Linked DNA regions of Homo sapiens: region 2 is linked to region 1. The links are contacts of gene promoters, found by promoter capture Hi-C in blood cells and fetal thymus (Javierre and others, 2016). All regions are on one chromosome and are shown on one strand. The core of a region is centred on a gene start or on the middle of the fragment in contact, and the rest is flanking DNA. Distances in the headings are between cores, read along the strand shown. Region 1 holds the start of COG7 (component of oligomeric golgi complex 7). Region 2 has its middle 4.9 kb from the start of RBBP6.

Region 1 (2,700 bases), core at 182-2,681:
CACTGAGACCAGCCTATCTTCCTCAGCTGAAATAAAATCCACTAAAACAATGTTTTCTAGATCTGTGTCATTCTCTTATACCTATACTATAATACGTTTTTTCCAGATATATGGATCTGTTGGCTATTCTTTCATACTCTCAAAATTCACTTTTTTTTTCTTTTTACAGTTTATTGTTTGGTACAAAACAGGCTCTTTAACTCTTTGAATAAACACCTCACAGACTCGTGCTCCTAGATTACAAAAAGTCAAAGCCAATTTTCTTTGACACTGGGCTCTTGACTCTGAGATTCAAGTCACTATAACAGAAACTGGAGTTGTTTTATCTTATATTCTGGAAGGTGCCTCAACAAAGACATGTTAAGAACTGGTTAAAACTTCTAGCATTTAAAAAGATCCATCTTGTCTTCCAGTGCCTATGGATAATAATAAAAAGGGAATCCCAGAGATCTGCTATTGAATTATTTAGAGAAGAGCTACTGCAATAAGATCCACTCTTTTAAGTTCCAAAAGGAAACTTCAGGCCAGATGTGGTGGCTCACAGGTATAATCACAGTACTTTGGGAGGCCAAGACTGGAAAACCCATTATGCCCAGGAATTTGAATTTGAGACCAGCCTGGCAACACAGTGAGATCCCATCTCTACAATTTTTTTTTTAAACAGAATTTGTGGGGCGCGGTGGCTCGCGCCTGTAGTCCTAGCGACTCGAGAGGCGAGAGGATCGCTTGAGTGCAGGAGTTCGAGGCTGCAGTGAGCTATGATCGAGCCACTGTAGAGAGACCCTGTTTCAAAAGAAAAAACAAAGAGAAAGAAAGAAAAGAAAAAGGAAACTTATAGCCCAGCCAGAGGAGGAAAAACAACACCCAAAATTAGCAAGTGTTCAAGACAGCCCGGCACCCAGCTGAGACTCCCGCTGACGTGATCAGGAGTTCGGGGCTTGCTCTTTTGCCGAGGGTATTTGCTGTCCATGCGTGCCCCGCCCACCTGAGTGCCTCACGCAAGTTCGGTGACCTCTGCCCAGCCGAGAGCAGGGGAGGGTCCCGCGGCCAGGGCCCCGAGCGGCTCACCCTCCACGGCGTGGTTCACCTCTTGGATGAACAGCTGCAGCTTCATCACCAGGGTGGCTGCGTGGCCATCCGCCTTCCCGGACGCCGCCTCCTTGGAGCCGGCCCTGAAGGCCGCATTGATCCACTCCTTCACGTCGAAGTCGTCTGCCAGGAACTTGGAGAAGTCCATGGCGGAACTGCCTCAGGCCTGGCGTCCAGAACTTAAGAGTTGGCTCCGGGCGGCAACGGGGATGCAGAAGCGAGCGAGCCTGCGAGAGCACCGAGGCTAGCCTCCGAGGCGAACCCCAGAAACGCCAGGACGGGTAACTTGCCCCTTTGCGCTTCCCCGCTCAGCGCACTCAGTTTGCGGCTGGGAATGACCCTCGCCGCCCGCCGTTCTTCTTCCGGAAGTCGTTGGCCGTTACCATAGTGACTGCAGGCGTCCGGAGCGCTGAGCAGAGGTGGGTGTGGGAAAACGCCCCGGACTGAGAGCTCCCGGCACCGACAAATATCCCATGTCTGCTAACATTTGCCGAGGACTAAACTATATGCTTACTATAAAGCCCTGACATACATTAGCGCATTTACGCGGTGGCTCGCGCCTGTAATCCCAGCTCTTTAGGAAGCTGACGCGGGAGAATCGCTTGAGGCCAGGAGTTCTAGGACAGCCTGGGCAACAGTGGAGCGCAGTGGGCAGCAATGGAGTGCAATTGAACGATCTCTGCTCACTACAGCCTCAAATTCCTGGGCAATTGAACGATCTCAGCTCACTGCAGCCTCAAATTTCTGGGCTCCAGCGATCCTCCCACCTCAGCCTCCAGAGTAGCTGGGACTACAGGCGCGCGACAACACGCCCGGCTATTTCTTTCTTTTTCTTTCTTTCTTTATTTTTTTCTGAGACGGAGTCTTGCTCTGTCGCCCAGGTTGGAGCGAAGTGACGCGATCTCGGCTCACTGCAACCTCCGCCTCCCAGGTTCAAGCGAGTGTCTTGCCTCAGCCTCCCGAGTAGCTGGGATTACAGGCGCGTGCCACCACGCCCGGCTACTTTTTGTATTATTAGTAGAGATGGGGTTTCACCACGCTGGCCAGGCTGGCCTCAAACTCCCAACCTCAGGTGATCCGCCTGCCTCGGCCTCCCAAAGTGTTGGGATCACAGGCGTGAGTCACCGCGCCTGGCCTAACTAATTATTTTCTTAATGATGTGTTTTGAGGTGCAGACCTTTTAAAGTTTGTTAAGTTCCTTATCACCTTTTTTTATGGATCATGCTTTTGGTGTTGCGGCTGAGAAATCTGTGCATAACCCATAATCACAAACAATTTCTCAGCCTGGGCAACATAGGAAGACCCCGTCTCTGCAAAAAAATTAAAAATTAGCTGAGTGTGGTGGCGCACACCTGTAGTCTCAGCTACTCGAGAGGCTGGGGTGAGAGGATTGCCTGAGCCCAGGAGGTCGAGGCTGCAGTGAGCTGTGATCACGCCACTGCACTCCAGCCTGGGTGACAGAGCGAGACCCTGTCTCGAAAAGAAAAGAAGAAAAGGTAGGGGAAGGTATGAGGGTATTCTTTAGGTTCTAAGTTTTTATGTTGTTTCAAGAGTGGGACCAACCCAAGGGGGAGGACAAGATGTCATCCTTGGAAACCCTACAGGGGACAG
Region 2 (2,827 bases), core at 104-2,603, 1.1 Mb after region 1:
GAGATGGCGCCTTTGCACTCCAGCCTAGGTGACAGAGTGAGTCTCCGTCTCAAAAACAAACAAAAAAAGGACTGGGACAAGACGGGGCACGGTGGCTCATGGCTGTAAACCCAGCACTTTTGGAGGCTGATGGGGGAGGATCACTTGAGCCCAGGAGTTTGAAACCAGCCTGGGCTGCATAGTGAGATCCCATCTCTACAAAAAAAAAAAAAAAAAAAAAAAAAAAAATTACCTGGGTGTGGTGGCTGGAGCCTGTAGTCCCAGCTACTCGAGAGGCTGAAGTGGGAGGATTGCTTGAGCCCAGGAGGTCAAGACTGCACTGAGCTATGATAGTGCCATTGCACTCCAGCTGGGGTGACAGAGCAAGATTTTGCCTCTAAAAAAAAAAAAAAAGGAAAAAAAAACCAAAATGGGAAAAAAAGGTAAACAATTGCTGAATCTGAGTAAAGGGTACATAGAGGTTTCTTATGTTCTTGCTGCTTATCCATAAGTGTGAACTACTCCAATCTGAAAAGGCTGTATGACTTCATCTATGATTCCAACTATATGACATTCTAGAAAAGGCAAAACTATGGAGACAGTAAAGAAATCAATGATTGCTTGGGGTCTGGGGTGGAAGGGAGGGTTGGGGAAACAGTAGCATAGGAGAGCCAGGGTAACACCTTATTTATTTATTTATTTATTTATTGAGACAGAGTTTCACCCTTGTCACCCAGGCTGGAGTGCAATGGCACGATCCCAGCTCACTGCAACTTCTGCCTCCCAGATTCAAGTGATTCTCCTGCTTCAGCCTCCTGAGTAGCTGGGATTACAGGTCCATACCACCATGCCCAGCTAATTTTTGTATTTTTCGTAGAGATGGGGTTTCACCATGTTGGCCAGGCTGGTCTTAACTCCTGACCTCAGGTGATCCACCTGCCTCGGCCTCCCAAAGTGCTGCGATTACAGGCGTGAGCCACTGTGCCCGGCCAGTGTCACCATTTTAAAACAGACTCCATCTTAAAACTAGCAAGGCACATTCCCTGCTGGTCACGGCTCATGGTCATAAGATGTTTACAACTGAAGAAACAGCTTAGTAATGCCTGCAAGGACAAACTCCTCCAACAACAAAATGTCCAGATGTCCCGATCTCTCATAACAATATATGATTTTACAACCATTATAGTCATGCTTTTTGATATACTTACGCACTAAAATGCCAAGGATAATTTTCTTTAAATCAACAAGGTAATAAATTTGTTATGCTGCCAGCCTACTAGCACATAGACACAGCTTAGCTTTTACATAGATAAGACCCTATATTAGAAGAGTTTAAAATAAAGACAGTGCATTCGTCCTGTTGCTTTCTGAGGATGCCCTACTCTGCAATGAAGTAGCTTTCAATACACTATCTCTTCTCACTGTACTCTGAGACTCATCCTTAATTCTTTCCTGTGCCAGATCCAAGAACCTTATCTTGAGGTCTGGATGGGGATCCCTTTGTCAGCAACAGGAAGGAGGGATGACTAAGAAGGACACAGGGGAATTTTTATATGTCACTATACATTTGCCAAAATCCACAGAATGCACAACACAAAAGGTAACCCCTAATATGAACTGTGGACTTTAGTTAATAATGTATCAATACTGACTCATCAATCCTAACAAATATATGACATCAATGCAAAATGTTAACAATAGTGGAAACTGTATGAGGGGAGAGGGGCATATGGGAACCCTATACTTTCCACTCAATTTTTCTGTGAACCTGAAACTGCTCTAAAAAAGAGTATATTATGTACCGACAAAAAATAAACATTAAAAAAAATTAAAATAAGGCTGGGCACGGTGACTCACGCCTGTAATCCCAGCACTTTGGGAGGCCGAGGCAGGTGGATCACTTGAGGTCAGGAGTTTGAGACCAGCCTGGCCAAAGTGGTGAAACCCCGTCTCTACCAAAAATACAAAAATTAGTCCGGCGTGGTGCTGAACTGTAATCCCAGTGACTCGAGAGGCTGAGGCAAGAGAATCGCTTGAACCCGGGAGGTGGAGGTTGCAGTGAGCCGAGATTGTCTCACTGTACTCCAGCCTGGACAACAGAGCGAGATATATATTTTGTCCCTTTTCTATTTATTTATTTATTTATTTATTTTTTGATACAGGGTCTCACTCTGTCACCCAGGCTGGAGTGCAGTGGCACAATCACAGCTCATTGTAGCCTCAACCTCCCAGGCTCAAGCAATCCTCCCACCTCAGTCTTCTGAGTAGCTGGTACCATAGGCATGCGACACCATGCCTGATTAAGTTATTAATTTTTTGTAGAGATGGGTTTTCGCCATATTGCCCAGGCTGGTCTCAAACTCCTGGGCTCAAGTGATACTCCCACCTTGGCCTCCCAAAGTGCTAAGATTACAGGTGTGAGCCACCACTCATGGACTCTTTATTAACAATATACTTCACAATGAAAAAGGGAATACAGTGATCTTCATTCTATATTATACCCTATATACCAAAAAAAATCAGATTGATTATGGAGTTTAAAATCATGAAGCTATATATAAACTGGAAGGAAATATAGCAAAAAAATATCTAAGGTGAGTGCTGAGTGGGCTACAAGCCATTTCTCAAAGCAAAAGCAAAAACCATAAAGGGAGAAAGGTCAATGGACTTTTGTTTGTTTGTTTGGAGACAGGTTCTCCCTTTGTTGCTTAGGCTGGAGTGCAGTGGCACGATCATAGCTCACTGCTGCCTCAAACTCCCCGGCTCAAGCTATCCTCCCACCTCAGCCTCCCAAAGTACTGGTATTACAGACATGAGCCACAGCACCCTGCCGGTCGATGGGCTGTAT

Evidence for each region. The method cuts DNA at HindIII sites, captures the fragments that hold promoters and counts their contacts. A CHiCAGO score of 5 or more calls a contact.
Region 2: a contact is called between a fragment that was not itself captured here and the fragment with the promoter of COG7 in region 1, in 1 of 17 cell types (naive CD8 T cells). The highest score is 5.1, in naive CD8 T cells.

Annotation. Positions count from the first base shown.
Region 1 is chr16:23,451,758-23,454,457 of GRCh38, forward strand. COG7 (component of oligomeric golgi complex 7) reads right to left here and starts at 1,432. Exons shown (of 17, transcript NM_153603.4): 1 at 1,069-1,432. The coding sequence starts at 1,237. It overlaps LOC124903667 (a long non-coding RNA gene), which reads left to right and starts at 986. Exons shown (of 2, transcript XR_007065030.1): 1 at 986-1,508. RefSeq lists enhancers at 1,092-1,421, 1,712-1,761. The HindIII fragment of the contact is 18,303 bases long and covers 1-2,700 here.
Region 2 is chr16:24,533,284-24,536,110 of GRCh38, forward strand. No RefSeq gene overlaps it. Among named protein-coding and RNA genes, the nearest start is that of RBBP6, 4.9 kb to the right of the region's middle. The HindIII fragment of the contact is 5,139 bases long and covers 1-2,827 here.